Regions from separate parts of the Homo sapiens genome. Here regions 1, 2, 3, 4 and 6 are each linked to region 5. The links are contacts of gene promoters, found by promoter capture Hi-C in blood cells and fetal thymus (Javierre and others, 2016). All regions are on one chromosome and are shown on one strand. Each heading gives the region's core, a stretch centred on a gene start or on the middle of the fragment in contact. The rest is flanking DNA. Distances are from core to core; before and after follow the strand shown. Region 1 overlaps DENND4B (DENN domain containing 4B). Region 2 overlaps GATAD2B (GATA zinc finger domain containing 2B). Region 3 has its middle 4.1 kb from the start of PGLYRP4. Region 4 overlaps NUP210L (nucleoporin 210 like). Region 5 holds the start of S100A13 (S100 calcium binding protein A13). Region 6 overlaps GATAD2B (GATA zinc finger domain containing 2B).

Evidence for each region. The method cuts DNA at HindIII sites, captures the fragments that hold promoters and counts their contacts. A CHiCAGO score of 5 or more calls a contact.
Region 1: a contact is called between a fragment that was not itself captured here and the fragment with the promoter of S100A13 in region 5, in 11 of 17 cell types (neutrophils, naive CD8 T cells, total B cells and 8 more). The highest score is 10.5, in neutrophils.
Region 2: a contact is called between a fragment that was not itself captured here and the fragment with the promoter of S100A13 in region 5, in 2 of 17 cell types (fetal thymus and M2 macrophages). The highest score is 6.5, in fetal thymus.
Region 3: a contact is called between a fragment that was not itself captured here and the fragment with the promoter of S100A13 in region 5, in 4 of 17 cell types (M2 macrophages, M1 macrophages, neutrophils and 1 more). The highest score is 6.2, in M2 macrophages.
Region 4: a contact is called between a fragment that was not itself captured here and the fragment with the promoter of S100A13 in region 5, in 5 of 17 cell types (total B cells, naive B cells, neutrophils and 2 more). The highest score is 10.7, in total B cells.
Region 6: a fragment that was not itself captured here is called in contact with the fragment with the promoter of S100A13 in region 5 in 1 of 17 cell types (total B cells); the score reaches 5.7 in total B cells.

Annotation. Positions count from the first base shown.
Region 1 is chr1:153,940,971-153,943,787 of GRCh38, forward strand. It overlaps DENND4B (DENN domain containing 4B), which reads right to left. Exons shown (of 28, transcript NM_014856.3): 3 at 1,908-2,160; 4 at 1,586-1,655; 5 at 1,217-1,386; 6 at 899-1,143; 7 at 404-470; 8 at 261-319; 9 at 1-78. Among named protein-coding and RNA genes, the nearest start is that of DENND4B, 4.3 kb to the right of the region's middle. The HindIII fragment of the contact is 4,975 bases long and covers 1-2,817 here.
Region 2 is chr1:153,917,582-153,920,281 of GRCh38, forward strand. The region is part of intron 1 of GATAD2B (GATA zinc finger domain containing 2B); the gene reads right to left. Among named protein-coding and RNA genes, the nearest start is that of GATAD2B, 4.0 kb to the right of the region's middle. The HindIII fragment of the contact is 885 bases long and covers 1,009-1,893 here.
Region 3 is chr1:153,351,505-153,354,354 of GRCh38, forward strand. No RefSeq gene overlaps it. Among named protein-coding and RNA genes, the nearest start is that of PGLYRP4, 4.1 kb to the left of the region's middle. RefSeq lists silencers at 1,172-1,221, 2,247-2,296. The HindIII fragment of the contact is 417 bases long and covers 1,386-1,802 here.
Region 4 is chr1:154,000,837-154,003,606 of GRCh38, forward strand. It overlaps NUP210L (nucleoporin 210 like), which reads right to left. Exons shown (of 40, transcript NM_207308.3): 36 at 899-1,149; 37 at 20-224. Among named protein-coding and RNA genes, the nearest start is that of RPS27, 11 kb to the left of the region's middle. The HindIII fragment of the contact is 1,365 bases long and covers 699-2,063 here.
Region 5 is chr1:153,626,060-153,628,971 of GRCh38, forward strand. It overlaps S100A13 (S100 calcium binding protein A13), which reads right to left and starts at 1,446. Exons shown (of 3, transcript NM_001024211.2): 1 at 1,424-1,446; 2 at 261-474. The coding sequence starts at 413. It overlaps S100A1 (S100 calcium binding protein A1), which reads left to right and starts at 2,375. Exons shown (of 3, transcript NM_006271.2): 1 at 2,375-2,437. RefSeq lists enhancers at 868-1,693, 2,520-2,912. The HindIII fragment of the contact is 11,281 bases long and covers 917-2,912 here.
Region 6 is chr1:153,887,895-153,890,684 of GRCh38, forward strand. All of the region lies in intron 1 of GATAD2B (GATA zinc finger domain containing 2B), which reads right to left. Among named protein-coding and RNA genes, the nearest start is that of GATAD2B, 34 kb to the right of the region's middle. The HindIII fragment of the contact is 908 bases long and covers 958-1,865 here.

The DNA.
Region 1 (2,817 bases), core at 217-2,716, 310 kb after region 5:
TCTGTGAGCACAGCCAGCAGCAGTGTGATAGCCAGCTCAGGGCCCAGGCTCTGCAGCAGCTGCAGGAAGCTGGCACCACTGCAGGCAATGCCGAGGTGGGGAAAGGGTCACCAGGATACCCTGGGGACCCTTCCCCAGATGCCAGGCACAGCCACCACCTGGACCCAGCCTGCATAAACCTCAACAGCTGCACCCACCTGCCCAGCACCTACCATGTCCTTGGTCATTAAAGCTCCCCTCCCCACAATCTGATCACATACCTGAGGGGCAGGGGTGAGGATACAGGCTGACAGAGGAGCAAGTTGTCATAGGGAGACATCTGGAAGGGAAGAAGAGCCACGGCTCAGGGTAATGATGCCAACTCCCCTCCTTCCATCAGCCCGGCCCCAGCCTCAGCTCTCACCTGCACTAGGATGCGGGGTCTCTGTGGGGAAGGGAAGGGAACGTTGTGAATGAAGTGGGAGATGTGCCTGGGGGACAGAGAAACAGGTCAGAGCATACTCCCCCGTCCATCCCTGTCCTCCCTCCACATTTTCTCAGCTCTTTCACTTGTTCTCAAGAACCTTATTCCTTCCTGAACCCCACTTTGAGACCTGTTATCAGCCAACAGAACCTCCATTATGCATATAATTTGTGCAGATCAGAAAAGAAATCCTCCCTGGGCATACACAGCCCTTTGCCAGGACCTAACTAGTAAGTTTAGACTGGATTTCAGGCCCTGCTCCCCTCCTCAGCCCGTGGCGTTTTTACAGTGGATAAACTGTATAACCACACACTGCAGCCCTGTCCCTTACCCTGTGCCCAGCCCTCCCCCCACCCACATCTGAATCTCTCCCATCTCTCCTGGCCCCCTTATCCCTTCCTAACCCCTTCCCAATGGCAGAGGAGCCATGCTCACGCTTCCAAGGGTAGGCGGTGGGGGCCTGAGACGGAGTAGCGGTAAAGGAAGGTGAGGAAGGCGCGGAAGGCAGGGAAGGCAGGCCAGCGGGACAGCACAGCGATGGCACGCCGGCTGCGCACAGCTCTGCCCCCCAGTGCCCGACCCCGCTCCACGGCGCTCAGCAGGCCCAGTGCCCGTGCCTGTCGCTCTGATAGCCTGGCCCTTGGGAACGCCTCGTAGAACTGCAGGGCGGCACCATACACCTGGCAGGGGGCAGAAGGGTAGTCAGGCAGGCCCTGCATAGCCTGGACCCCTTGCCACACTCCACACACCCACCTTATCACCAGCTGCACCCGTGAGCACAAAGGTGGAGAAGACGGGCACGGGGTACTTGGTCTGGGCAGGCCAGCACTCGATAGTGGCCCCCATGGGCAGGCAGAAGACGGGCACTGACTCGGGCAGCGGGAACGCCTCATTGTCCTCCTCCGGGTAGCGGCCCAGCAGCTCTGCACCCCCAGCATAGTTGGGGGTACCCAAAAGGAGCAGGGTCCATCAGACTCCAAGGGAAATGAACCAAGGGATCCCAGAGAAGGCCCGAGTAGCAAAGAGAAAGTAAACTCTGGGGACACTTAAGGTGCCTGCCAAGAGGCACCAGGGCAAAGGGATGTAGGGTCACAGGATTGGAGGGATAAAGGGGCCACTCACCTGCCTCGTACACCAGCGTGTTGGCCTTCGCCAGGCCCACCTTATAGCACAGGTACACTGCTGGGCCCCACTACCCCAGAAATGGCAAGAGACAAGCAGATACATAGCTAACAAAGGTTTCTGGGGTCCACTTTCTCTCTACCACCCCTAAATGTTCTTTTGTCTTTAAAGCTCCCATTAATCCCAGTGCCCCAAGACCAGAGTTACCCCTCTGGACTCACCCCTGTGGTCAGAGCCTTGGTCCTGGGATGCCCTTTGTTCCCAGTGTCCACACCCACTCTTACACCAAGAGGACCAGGTGTCAGCTCTTGGCCCCACTCACCATGCCAGGGTTGAGGTTGCGGGGCAGCCGGCAGTAAGTATGAGGAGTGCCCTCGCCCTTACTGGGCAGCACCAGGCAGAGGTCAGTGATGCCCAGGGCATGCAGCCCTGCCCCCTCTGCTGCCCGCCGGTAAGTGAGGTAGGTGCGGGGGTGCCCGGGGCCTGGAGGGGCCAGGTTTGCTGAGTGGCTGTAGGGTGTCGTGTCAAGCACTTGGAAGCCAGGCTTGGGACGTTCCTTCCCCTCATACAACACCCTTGGCACAGAGAGCAAAGATAGATGTTGAGAGGTCAGGGTAGAGGACAAAGACCCAATCCTGCCAGATCTGCCTATCTAATCCCCTGAACTTGCCTTGTACCCACAGCCTTGTCAAACTCTAACACTAGGGCCCACCTCTTCTTGCTGAACTCTGCCCTCCAGAATCCTGTGCCCTTTCTTTGGCCTTTGGCCTTATTTCATGGTCAGCAACAATCCTGCATGCCTTCTATGGCTCTCATACTCATTAATAAACACTAAGGGTCAGCTGGGCACGGTGGCTCATGCCTATAATCCCAGCACTTTGGGAGGCCAAGGCAGGTGGATCACCTGAGGTCAGGGGTTCAGGACCAGCCTGGCCAACATGGTCAAACCCCATCTCTACTAAAAATTCAAAAATTAGCTGGACGTGGTGGCACATGCCTATAGTCTCAGCTACTCAGGAAGCTGAGGCAGGAGAATTGCCTGAACCCAGGAGGCGAAGGTTGCAGTGAGCCAAGATCACACCACTGCACTCCAGCCTGAGTGACAGAGAGAGACTCTGTCTATAAAAAAAAAAAAAAAAAAAAAAATAGTTATACAAGCTACCACTGACTGACTCTGTTAAGTCTGTCACATGGGTTATCTCATTTAATCTCGACCATCCTATGAGGATGAA
Region 2 (2,700 bases), core at 201-2,700, 290 kb after region 5:
ACGGGGTTTCACCATGTTGGCTAGGCTGGTCTCGAACTCCTGACCTCATGTGATCCGCCCGCCTCAGCCTCCCAAAGTGCTGGGATTACAGGCATGAGCCACCAACCCCGGCCAACAAACATTTATTATTAACTACATGCCAGGCACTGTACTAGGCACTAAACAAATTACCAAAACAAATCCATGCCTTCTAAGACCTACATCATAGAAAGAGAACCAATAGGCAATAAATGTAACAAATAAATATATTATAAAAGTGTTAAGTCCTATGAAAAAGAAAATAGAGCAGGCAAGGATAAGCATGAGGGATGGGAACTGACAATACAATTTTAAAGAAAGGAAGGATAAGACTTCATTAAAAAGGTGACATTTAAGCAAAGACGTTAAGGAGGTGAGGCAATCAGCCATTCTCTGTGGGGAAACCTAGCTGTTTTCCCACTAGAAGGAATCACTTGGTCTTAGGAACCTGCCAAGGTTCTAAGATAGAGTGTGACTGATCAGCATTCAAGGAGCAAGTCAGTGTGGCTGGAATGGAGAGAGCAAGAGGGAAGATGACAGCCGATCAAAAATGGAAGAGGTTGGGGAGGGCAAACCATGTAAAGCCTTAAAGGCTATTGCAAGGACTGGCATTACTCTGTCTGCAAGAAATGAGAATTCAAAAATTAGTAGCATTACCCAAAATCAGTTAGCTAATAAATCACAAAGCTAGAATTCAACCCAGGACTTCAAGGCTCTCCACAACCTGTGTTCCACTAGTCCAATCTGCCACATATTAGTTCATCCCCTCTCTTTCAGCAAGTTTGAGTTTAAATACTCTAAAAATGCTAACATTATAAAAATCCTCTGGGCAAGAGATGCACAAGTCTTTCAGTTAACATTTGCAATCCTTCACAATTATAATGAGAATTTATTAATCCTGGTGTCTAATCTAAATCCTACTAACATTCCAGCATGTATTTTTAAAGATTATAAATTCCACCCTCCCTTGAAATGAGACAAGCCGAAGAAAGCTTTGATCAAAAGATTTAAAGTACGACTCTCAGCTTTAGGTAACAGTAACCTGAATTATTTTTTTAAATGGATACTAAGGCCGGGCACAATGGCTCCATGCCTGTAATCCCAGCACTTTGGGAGGCTGAGGTGGGCAGATCACCTGAGGTCAGGAGTTCGAGACCAGCCTGGCCAACATGGTGAAACCGTCTCTACTAAAAATACAAAAATTAGCCAGGCATGGTGACAGGTGACTGTAATCCCAGCTACTTGGGAGGTTGAGGCAGGAGAATCACTTGAACCCAGGAGGCAGAGGTTGCACTGAGCTGAGATCACACCACTGCACTCCAGCCTGGGCAACAAGAGCAAAACTCCATCTCAAAAAATATAAAATAAAATAAAATAAAATGGAACTAGCCAGGTGTGAAAAACAGTAAGAGAATGGCTCAGGAATATGGAATTGCTATAATTTCCCTTAATTTCTTTAGCAGTTTACTAGTTATTATTAATAACAAGTTCACACATTGTCAAAGATGCTTCTGCAGTTACTATGATTCTTTGAGGTCTGGATCTGACCACTTCATATCTCAAAAGTAACGAATGATGTGTTCTTAGTAATCTGCTGCTTTTTGTACTATAACCCAAAACTGTTGATAGTTTCTTGCCAGCTGATGGCAACCTAGGTAAATGGCAAAGGTAAGGGGGATTTTGTGAGAGACAGCAAACATTACCAAGCCACCATCTAAATACCTCAGACAGGTTAAAAGCCCTAATGACCCTGGGACACTCCCTTCTTACTGGATGAATTCAAGCTATACAGGAATATTTCATATATCCACAAGGGAGAAGGTAAAAGATGGAACATGAGGAGGGGTCTGTTTCAAATCAGACCTATTCTTCAGAAGCTTTCATCACTGCTACACAAAGAAAGGAGGTTGCTGCTTCAAGGATTCTGGAGCCACCAAAATCCCCAAACAGGACCTACAGAAAAAGCTTCACAGAGACTACTGAGGATAAACCAAATAATATGGCTAATAGAAGATACACCACAAAATCCAGTCATTGTAACATAAACTGAACTTCCTTATATATCTTTTCCTAGGCTTAGCCAAAAGCAGGAGAACTGCAACTCTATGTGGTATTGTCTGATAGACTGGATTTTTTCCCCAAGCAAGAGGTGGACAGCTTTATGCCAGGACTAGATTTACAGTCAATCTGGGTGTGTGTCTTTACTTTTTCTTTCCCTCCAAACTACCTCAGAAAATGTCTGGCTATTGTGCCTTGATATGTAATAATGCAGGGCTTTAAGTACTGCAAAGGTCTGGAAAAGAAAGTCCCTCAGTCCCAGTTATGGCTCAAATCTTACGATTTCTCTAGCAGTTGTTTTAATCAACCAAAGCTGGTTGGCTTTTCTCAATGAGCCAAGCAACATGAGCCTTCTAAGTTAAGCGCAGAGGGGCTGCTTGTCAGCATGACTCCCAATGGGGTGGCTAACATGGAATATGCTCCAGAGTCTAGAAATCAGGACAGCACAGCTGCTGTTTTCCTCCACATGCACCTCCAGCTTGGTGGGTGGGGGAGGAAAGGAAGAAGAATCAGTAAATTGAAACAGGAGGAATGCTTTACATGCAACACACAAGACTCACTGCTTAAAGGTGAGATGAATTCAGAGGTCTCAACACATGATTAGGATACCTTCACTGACACAAT
Region 3 (2,850 bases), core at 344-2,843, 270 kb before region 5:
AACAAATGTGGTGGGGCTTTTTTGCTTTTTTTGTTTTGTTTTGTTTTGTTTGTTTTTGAGACGGAATCTATCTCTGTCGCCCAGGCTGGAATTCAGTGGCATGATCTCTGCTCGCTGCAACCTCTGCCTCCCGGGTTCAAGTGATTCTCCTGCCTCAGTGTCCCAAGTAGCTGAGACTACAGGCATGTGCTACCACACATGGCTAATTTTTTGTATTTTTAGTAGAGATGGTGTTTCATAGTGTTAGCCAGGATGGTCTCGATCTCCTGACCTCATGATCTGCCCGCCTCAGCCTCCCAAAGTGCTGGGATTACAGGCGTGAGCCACCACGCCCGGCCAAATGTGGTTTATTTATATGTGTGTGTGATATATATAAATATGTATATATAGAGAGTAATAAATGATGTCAGCATTTAGAAGACGTACATAACTCAGTCAACCAATATTTTCCAAATGATCAATATATGAAGTCACAAAGTTTGGATAAAAGATCCATTAAATTTTAAGAGGGACCAATTGATTCTAATGTAACAGAGAACAAATAATTCATTGATATGGTTTCAGACTTTACGTTGCAACTAACCTTTGAGAAACCATCACTTGTTGGGTTTTGATGTAATATGAGAGAAGAATATCCACAATTATATATTTAAAGGCTATTAATGTATTCATCCCCTTTGCAACTACTTATCTGTGGGAGATTGGATTTTCTTCAAATCTTCAACCAAAGCAACATACAGCAATACCTTGTATGCAGAAGTAGATGTGATAAACCAGCTGTCTTCTTTGAAGCCATACAGTAAAAAGGTCTGCAAAAATGTGAAAAAAAAACACTCTTCTCACTAGCTTTTGACATATATATATAATTATTTTTAATTGTTTAAAAACGTGGTAATACGTAATGTGTTTATTAATGGTACTTTAAGTGAGTTAATAAATCATTTTAAATTTTTTAAACTTTTAATGTAGTAAATACTGATACATCTAATCCACAAAAGCTCTTTGGGATACTCAATAACTTCTATGAATACATATAAAAGGGTCCAGAGAGCAAAAAGATTAAAAACCTGGGGCCAAAGGAATCCCACAGGCTGTCCTGATGCAGATAGGCCACAAGGTGGCAGCATGCGCCCTCTGATAACTCCGGAGTCACCTTTCACTCACTAGGAGTCTCTGAGCAACCTCTTTTATCCATCACTCCCTTCCACTTCCTTCCTTACCTTCATGCTTCTGTGTGGCACGTCTTTTTTTTTTCTAACTAGCTTTATCCACCAACGCCTTCATAATTACAGGGCATAGCCATCTCCTAAGCATAAGTTCTGGCCAAACCAAGCCAGTCATTCATTTTATTCTGCAAACATTTGTCAGGTGTCACTCATATGCAAAGCTTATCATCCAGGGATGAGTACATTGAGAACACTGCTCTCAAGTAGTTAATAATATAATGAGGGAGACAGATCCAAACGCCAGTGATTATAATGCCTGCTGAGTGTGAAAACCCTTTATTCTTTACAAAGGGCTGTGGACTTCAAAGGGAGTCCTGAGAGCAGAGGATGCCAAAAGCCAGATGCTGAGATACTCGCCAAAAATTTCTGCAGAGATCTGGAACCTAGGGACATAGTGAGCGCAAAAGCCAGGTTCCCAAGAGATCGGGGAGGAGAAAGGGTTGGAGCAACAGAAGCCAGGCAACAAAAGGGAATGCCAGCTTTCTCAATTTTGAAGGTGGCATGTCTGAGAAATTAGGAGGATGATGAGCAGAGGCAGCCAAGGTGGAGACAGGGGGAGAGGTCCAGACTTGGGGAAGCTTAGGTTGAATGTCTAAGAAGCCAGATCATTGGAGGGTCCTCACTGTGGATGCTGGAGCAGCCCAGCATGGGGGCAGGGAGTGCGGCTGCTCTCAGCAGAGGGCCTCAGAGACCTCAGGATGGCCAGTCAAGGGAGGCCACAAGGATGCCAGGGGTGGTCAAAGCTTGATGTGGACTGAGCCCAAACGTGGTAGAACAATGGTCTGAAGCTACCCGTGGATAGCTTCTGTAAGTCATCCTAATGCACTAGAGTCTAGAATGAGCACTGGGGAAATGGGGGATGTTAGGGCGCTTGTGGTTAGGAGACCCGTACCCAGAGATCTCCAAGGAAGAGCACTTGGGACTCCCAGCAAGGAGGAAGACAGGGAGTGGAGGAATAGGCAGCAGGCTGTGCGCAGCCTGAGTGGGGCTGGGCCTCAGGCATCAGAGTCCCTGTGAGGAGAGGGACCTGACTTCACCTGCAGGTGGAGCAAGTAAGCCAGGAGACAGTGTCCAGGGGCCATGAGGCTAGTAGTAGTCATGAAGCCCACCAAGAGTCCATCAAAACTTGGAATCTGTGCTAGAAATGACCTAAGGGTCAGCTGTCCCAATCTCCTCATGTAATGGATAAGAAAATGGAGGCCCGAACATGGAAATCACTTCTAAAGACCACCAGCAAGTCTGAGAAAGCTAAGGACTAAAACCAGCTCAGTCCCTCAGTCCGGGTCCCACTGTGTGCCTGCTGTAACACCCCCATTACAACACAGGAGGGGTAAAGCTCCCTGAAAGACCACAGTGGGAGCTGCAGAGAAGGGAAAGACAGACCCGCAGTGGGTCCCAGGCATCTGGGAAAGAGCACAGTGATTTGATGGTAGCTGCAGGAACCTCTGCCTGCTTGTTTGTTTACTTGCTTGGTTGTTTGTTTGTTTGAAATGGAGTCTCACCCTGCCACCCAGGCCAGAGTGCAATGGCGCGATCTTGGCTCACTGCAACCTCTGCCTCCCAGGTTCAAGCGGTTCTCCTACCTCAGCCTCCTGAGTAGCTGGGATTACAGGTGCGCACCACC
Region 4 (2,770 bases), core at 131-2,630, 370 kb after region 5:
AGGAATCTCTGATGCTTACCTGCACCCAACTTATCTTTCATAGCCCTCACTACCACTGCCTCACTTTGACTGGTGAGTACACAGGAAATATTGATGAAAACAGGTGATGCCATTTGCTGGAAGGAAGTGAAGTTGACCACTCTTACAGAGTAAATGGCCAGGCCAGGAGTGAGGGGAGAGTGGCTATGGCCAGCGACCACTAGAACTGGGGAGCTGGAGATGACCTTGGAGAAAAGATAAAACCTTTTATTTAAAAGAAGAAAAATCAACTTTGTATCAGTATGTTCCAATCTGAAACATATACAGTACAATAATTGTCAAGATCTGGATTTCTAGCTAGCTAGCCGACAATCAAATCATTTACTTTTTTGTTGTTGTTGAGAGGGAGTCTCGCTCTGTCACCCAGGCTGGAGTGCAGTGGCGCGATCTCAGCTCCCTGCAACCTCTGCCTCCCGGGTTCAAGCAATTTTCCTGCCTCAGCCTCCCGAGTAGCTGGGACTACAGGTGTCCGCCACCACGTCCAGCTAATTTTTGTACTTTTAGTAGAGAAGAGGTTTCACCATGTTGGCCAGGATGGTCTTGATCTGTTGACCTTGTGATCCACCCACTTTGGCCTCCCAAAGTGCTGGGATTACAGGCATGAGCCACCGCGCTCGGCCAATCATTTACTTTTTTTACTCCTTTAGGTATGTTGACAAAGCTTATGACCTAGATTTTGGACTCTGGGAGCCTGCCTGGCATTATGAAGGAGATGGGTTTTCTTCATTTGATTTTGTCATTTCCTATGGTAATTTTTATTAGGTCACTCAGTAACTTCTTTTGCCCTTGAAGTGAGAATGAAAACTATCTTTTCAAATTCCTGATCTCTTGTTCTGTTTTGGTTCAGTTCTTAACATACCTCTAGCTTCCTAAGAACTCTGTCCACTCCCAGTACTCTTATCTCCCCGATATCTTGTTTGTGGCTAAGAACCAATTCTGACTGGTTAATATAAAAGGCTGGGATGAAAGGAATGAGGATTCGTTGCATTCCATTCTTGCTACGTTCACTGACCAGTGTAGCCCACCCATAGACTGAGGTGTCAGCCACACTGAGGGCCTGTAGCAGCTCCTCTGACTGCGGTCGAACCTTGATTATGCAGACATAAACCCCTGGAAAAAAAAGAGGAAAAACTGAGCAGGAAGGTTCAGAGGCTCTATTGAGCCAACTGAATTAGGATAGGAAGGGAAAATTGTGACATGCAAATTCAGCAAAAGAGAAAATGTGAATTTAGTTTTGAGTATTCAATATCAGCACAATATTGGCCACTACGAGGAGGATGCCAAATAAAAAGAAAAATACTCCTAGAGAAACCACAACTAAACTTGTTTTCTGAGAATACCATTCTTTCTTTTTTTTGGAGACAGGGTCTCACTGTGTCGTGCAGGCTAGAGCACAGTGGCGTGATCATGGCATTCTGCAGCCCGACCTCCCAGGCTCTGGCGATCCTCCCACCTCAGCCTCCCGAGTAGCTGGGATTACAGGCATGAGCCACTGTGCCTGGCTAATTTTTGTATTTTTTAGCTGAGGTGGGTGGATCACAAGGTCAAGAGTTCGAGACCAGCCTGGCCAACATGGTGAAACCCCCATCTCTACTAAAAATACGAGGATTAGCCGGGTGTGATGGTGGGTACCTGTAATCCCAGCTACTTGGGAGACTGAGGCAGGGAAATTGCTTGAGATGGACGTTGCAGTGAGCTGAGATCACACCACTGCATTCCAGCTTGGGGACAGAGCAAGACTCCGTCTCAAAAAAAAAAATTATATTTTTTATAGAGAAGGGACTTCATTATGTTGCCCAGGCTGGTCTCAAACTCCTGGGCTCAAGCGATCCTCCTGCCTTGGCCTCCCAAAGTGCTGGGTTTACAGGCGTGAGAAACTGCTCCCTGGCTAAGAATACCATTCTTATTCAACATGTCAGGGAATATTAAATGATATAACACAAGCAGGGCAATTAAGAGCTGGGGATATAGAATGAAGTAGTCAGTGCTGGTGAACTCAGGAAAGGGTTTGTGAAAGACAGACAAGCTTTGAGCATCATTAATAACTTATGTATCAGACCACCTCTTGGTGTCATTATTTTTATCAATGGTAGGAACTGTTTTTCCAGTTACCCATGATTAATCCTTAGCTGTCTTTTTTTTTTTTTTTTAAAGAGACAGAATTTCACACTGTTGCCCAGGCTGGAGTGCAGTGGTGCAATTCTACCTCACTGCAGCCTTAAACTCCTGGGCTCAAGTAATCCTCCCACCTCAGCCTCCCAGGCAGCTAGGACTCCAGGCATGTGCCACCATGCCTGGCTAATTTTTAATTTTTATTTATTGCTATTATTATTATTTTATATATATTTTTGAGACAGAGTCTCGCCCTGTTGCCCAGGCTAGAGTGCAGTGGCGCAATCTCAGCTCACTGCAAGCTCTGCCTCCCAGGTTCACGCCATTCTCCTGCCTCAGCCTCCCAAGTAGCTGGGACTACAGGCGCCTGCCACCACATCCGGCTAATTTTTGTATTTTTAGTAGAGACGAGGTTTTACCTTGTTAGCCAGGATGGTCTCGATCTCCTGACCTCGTGATCCTCCCACCTCAGCCTCCCAAAGTGCTGGGATTACAGGCGTGAGCCACCATGCCTGGACTATTTATTATTTTTGTAGAGACAGAGTCTTGCTCTTGCCCAGGCCGGACTGCAGTGGCACAATCACAACTCACTGAAACCTTGAATTCTTGGGCTCAAGCA
Region 5 (2,912 bases), core at 196-2,695:
CAGGAGGCTGAGGCAGGAGAATCACTTGAACCCCGGAGATGGAGGTTGCAGTGAGCCAAGATCACACCACTGCACTCCGGCCTGGGCAACAGAGTGAGACTTTGTCTCGAAAAAACAAAAGAAAACCTGCAACCATTGACACATGCAGCCACCCACACCCTTTCTTGTGGTCACCTCACCGTACTCGGCACCATCACGTCCTAAACACAGTGTCCCATAATCATCATCTCACAAAATCTCAGTCCCAGACTTCTGCCTACCTTGAGCAGATGGGGCAACTGCTGGGTAACCAGCTCTTTGAACTCGTTGACGCTGAGGCTATCCTTCCGGCCCTCCTGCCTTGCAAAGGTGAAGAAGGTGGTGACCACGGTCTCAATGGACTCCTCTAGCTCTGTCAGTGGTTCTGCTGCCATTAGGACCCTGAGGCCAAAGCTGATGTCCTCAAGGGGCTAGCTGACCTTTGTCAGGGCTGACCTGTGGAAGAGAGAAGGAGCAGAGAGGGAGAGTCAGGGAGCCCCAAGATGCAGGAATGGTTCAGAAGGTCCCTGCCTTGGTGTTATCACATCAGTCTCAGCCTGGAGGGGGCATATGGGGAAAGAGGGAGAGGACAGGGGTTGAGCTTGGGGCAGCAGACCAGGCAACGGCATCTCAGTTTTGGTGGGGGCAGGAGATTCAGCTCCAGAAACCCCCTCTTCTGTAGGTCTCACAATCCGGGATCCTTTTTAAATGTCTGTGGCTTAGGGACCCCTCTGTGGTGATCCCTCGATCTGGAGACCCCTCTACTTGAGAGGAGGTCTTCAGTTGAAGGTCCTTCTTGGAGTCCTTCAAGTCTGGTGGCCCCTCTGTGGCGTGTCTGTCTCAAGAATCCCTTCTTGTCTCACCCAGACTCACAGGTCATAAGGTTGTTTGTCTCCAAAGCTTGTTTATGTTGGGCCCTGGTCTCCGGCCACTCGCATCCGCCCACACACACTCTAACCGCTCCTCCCAGCAGAGAAGCACAGGGTCTGGCAAATGTCCCCTGTGGTCAGAGCTGGCTCCGTCTGAACAGACCCATTTTCTCTGCCCCGCTCCACCCTTACCTCTCCTCAGCGGCAGCAGGGCAGAGTGCTGAACCCAGGACCCCACAGATCCTCCCCGCTCCTGTCTCCCGGTGACAAGGGTCCTGGAACGGGGCGTCTCTGACTCCCTGCTCCAGGACGGGTTTAGTACAGGCACTCACAACCCCCTGGGGTGCGGCGGGTGGGGCTGGAAGAGGCATTCTCTTTTCTGTCCACCCCGTCACACACTCCTGCACGCGCTGTTGCTCGATCATCCAAAGCTCCTTCCTGAATTCCTGTCTGAGCTGGCTCTGGGGGAGGGACCTGGGAGCCCAGGAAGAAAAAATGATCTCCAGCCTCCCTCCAGGGTCAGCCATGAGACTCACCCGGCAAGGAGATGGGGTAGAGTGAGCTGGAGCCTCAGGGCTGAGGTTTATAAGCAGCGGGGAAGGAGGAGAGAGCTGCTTCCAAGCCCGGAGGTGTCAAATTTCCGTGGTCGATTCTGAAGACCAGAGACAGCCCAATCAGGCCGCTTGCCCTGAGCCCTCAGGTCTGGACCCGGGCTCCCTGCCAGCCACACGAGCGCCCCCACTTGGTCAGGGAGAGGAGCTGCCTGGACAGATCTCGTTCGGCAGGGGTCCCAGGGTCCTAGTCCTCTCAATACTGGGGGCTGCTGCCACCATACCCATGTCTAATCAGGAGTGTGTATGCTGAGGGGGGAAGAGGGAGGCAACCAATCAAGGGAGCTCAACACTGAGAGGCCCAATCTGAGACACACACAGAGGCCCCTTGGAATGAGATCCCACAAAGGATGCTACAGACCAAGATCCCTCAGAGAACCCCAGGCTGAGGCCCCACACACAGAGGGGGATCCAGGTTGAGACCCCCAGAGAAGAGTCCTGGATTGAAATCCCTCTGTGGGTTCTCAGACTCCCAAGACTAAGTTTCTCACTGAGGGTCCTCTCAGTGAGGCCCCATGGAGGAGCCACAGACTAAGACCCCCTCAGCAGAATTCCCCCCTTACCGGGCTCAACCAGCACAGCCAGCCACAGGTACTGCAAGGCCCAGCTTGGGGTAAGACATCCAGTGTCCCTCCCAGGACCTCCTTCCCACCTCTTTCCCCTGCACCATCCACTGCTGCCTGGAGAGAAAGGAACGGGGCAAGCAAGGCTGGGAAAGAGACAAGGGCCGCCTGTTCCAGCCCAGGAGACAGAGGGCGCCTCTGTCTGCTCCTGGCCCCTTGCCCCACAGGGTGTTCGTCTGTGAAGGGGTGGAGTCGGTGGGGGGGTCAGCGGGGGAGGGACTGTTGAAGACAGGTCTCCACACACAGCTCCAGCAGCCACATTTGCAACCTTGGCCATCTGTCCAGAACCTGCTCCCACCTCAGGCCCAGGCCAACCGTGAGTACCCTGCCCCACTGGGCTAGTCCCTGGCCTGCCAGCTTCAGGGAGAGGGGTCTTCAGAAGGGCTCCAAGAGGCTGGGGACCATAGCACTGTGGAGCACTGAGGATCTGGGAGGAGTCAGTCAGGGTGAGGGCAGTTTGGGATTTGGGGGAGACAGGGTTTGGAAGGTGGTGATGAGAGACAAATGAACTGAAGGTCGGAGAGAGAGCTGGCAGCTCAGCAAAGGAGGAAGCCAGTGGGGAACCCACCATGAGCTTCCTGACCGCCTGGCCCTCCCACAGGGAGCCCTCAAGTCCCTGCCAAGGCCCCCTCTGTCTCCCAGGTGTTGGGAAGGGTCCCAGCCCTCCCCTGCCTCGCCTCCTGTGGGGTAAGAAGAGAGCAGATACAACAGCTGTTTCTGCCCCCACCTCTCCTGCCAGCCTTAGTCTCTGCCACCCCCACCCTGCCTTGCCAAGAGCTCAGGTCCCGGGG
Region 6 (2,790 bases), core at 162-2,661, 260 kb after region 5:
TGGCCAACATGGTGAAACCCTGTCTCTACTAAAAATACAAAAATTAGCCGGGCATGGTGGCAGGCACCTGTAATCCCAGCTAATCAGGAGGTTAAGGCAGGAGAATCACTTGAACCTGGGAGGCGGAGGTTGCAGTGAGCTGAGATCGCGCCACTGCACTCCAGCCTGGGCAACACAGTGAGGCTCTATCTCAAAAAAAAAAAAAAAATTACTGCCATACACTACTCAATGACTTAATCATCATACAGGAACAGAGAAAATAAACAGATCAACTTTTTCATTTATCATACAGCACAAGATGTGTCTAGGCCAATCTCTTCTGTAAGGGTGGTATACATTTTCCTAAGGCAACTGGGGGATTCCACTGCCTATCCTTGGAAAAAAAACCATGAAAATCATATGGAGCATTATATTAGTATTTAATACCTACAGAATAATTTCTGTCTTCCAAAAGACAAAGTATCTCTAGTAGTGTCTACAAGATAGTACCTAACTAGAATAGTCCTAAATCCCTAACTTATTCTCATCCTGTATCAGCAGCATGCTATTGATTCCCAGTGATGAGGTGTGCAAATACTTCATTTCTTAATACTTGATTGCTGATTATTTTCATTCACTCCGATCTGTACCTTCCCTCTATCTTTGCAGGGGGACCAAGTTCTTTTTAGGCAAGTCACAAATGTTCATACTTTTCTGACAACAAAAATTAAACTTGAACATCTAAATGTGCTAACAACTGTTATCAACTAAGTGCCACAGACGAAAGAGAAAGTAGTTTTAGTAGTCACGTTTATCTCTTTTGCCACAGAGTTTCTAAGCACTTGAGTTCTACTTTTTGGCCTGGCTTTTTGCTGTTACTAAGTATCTAAGTGTCTCTTCCTCTCTAGCGTTCCAAGAGTAGAAATCCCAGCTTATCAACAGTTTCACTTAGAGCTTCAGACATTTTACTCTACATTAAGCTTCTCATCTTTCACTTCTGTTGTGAAGGTTGCTCTTATCTTTATCCTCTGAAATCATAAACAATGCAAAAAAGAAAAAAATATATAGCTACCCTCTATATAGTGACGTTCTACTCAATCTCTGACTTAAGAGCCCCAAACCATGAGGAGTAATAATAGAAAACCTAAGACTAAAATGTAAGTTATCACAGCCATACAGTCAGTGACTTCCATAAATCTTTTAATTTGCCCTCCACTTTAATAATCACCTCACTGAATTGCTATGTTCAACAGGCTATACTAGAACTAGATCTAATTATTGAATAAAAATAGAATGTATCAGGCCGGGTGTGGTGGCTCACCTGAGGTCGGGAGTTCGAGACAAGCCTGACCAACATGGAAAAAACCTATCTCTACTAAAAATACAAAATTAGCAGGGCGTGGTGGCACATCCCTGTAATCCCAGCTACTCGGTGGGCTGAGGCAGGAGAATTGCTTGAACCCAGGAGGCGGACGTTCTGGTGAACCGAGATCGTGCCATTGCACTCCAGCCTGGGCAACAAGAGCGAAACCCCGTCTCCAAAAAAAAAAAAAAAAAAAAAAACACACAAAACAAAGAATGTACCATGTATATTTATAAATCACTCTGGGCAGGCAAGTTCAGAATTTACTTCACTCAAACTTGGTAGACTTGTGAGCCATCCAATTATCGGAATTTCAAGACAATCACACAATTAACCCCCCTCATAATTACACTAATGAGAAAGATGGAGACAACATAAAAGGAAACAGCTGGCAAGAGGAAAGTTGTAGATGCGTGAACGTCAAATTTAAAATACACTCACATGTTACTTATTTTCATATGTTCTCTGTATTTTCAACATTAAAATTAACTGTAAAGAATAGCAAAATGTTAGTAATTTTTGAAGCTTGTGGTGGGCACATGAAAGTTAATTACTTTGTACTCTATTTGGGTATGTAAGTTCTTCAGAATACAAAATAAAAAAAGTCACAGGAAATTTACAAACATCTACATTATCAATAGAAAGATAAGAGGCCAGTGGGGCGCGGTGGCTCACGCCTGTAATCTCAGCACTTTGGGAGGCCAAGGTGGGCAGATCACCTGAGGTCGGGAGTTGGAGACCAGCCTGACTAACATGGAGAAACTTGTCTTTACTAAAGATACAAAAAATTAGCCAGGCATGGGGGCATGCCTGCAATCCCAGCCACTCGGGAGGCTGAGACAGAAGAATCACTTAAACCCGGGAGGCAGAGGTTGCAGTGAGCCAAGATCGCGCCATTGCACTCCAGCCTGGGCAACAAGAGCGAAACTCTGTTTCAAAAAAAAAAAAAAGAAAAAAAAAGAAAGATAAGAGGCCTGGTGTGGTGGCTCACACCTGTAATCCCAACACTATGGGAGGCCGAGGCGAGTGATCACAAAGTCAAGAGATCAAGACCATCCTGGCTAACACAGTGAGACCCCGTCTCTCCTAAAAATACAAAAAATTAGCCGGACGTGGTGGCACGCACCTGTAGTCCCAGCTACTCAGGAGGCTGAGGCAGAAGAATCGCATAAACCCAGGAGGCAGAGGTTGCAGTGAGCCAAGATCACACCACTGCACTCCAGCCTAGGCGAAAGAACAAGACTCCGTCTCAAAAAAAAAAAAAAAAACGACAGAACAAGAAACAGGCTTTCTTGCTTCCCAGCCAGCCTGGCAGCTGCTCTTGGTTGGGGGCCATCCTGAACCTAAGACAGAAAGCTGGTGGCCGCAGAGGATGAAAAAGCGGCTGGAGTTGATCAACTCTAGGCTCCAACTTATTTAAAGTGAAATTGGTCATCCTCACCAACTGC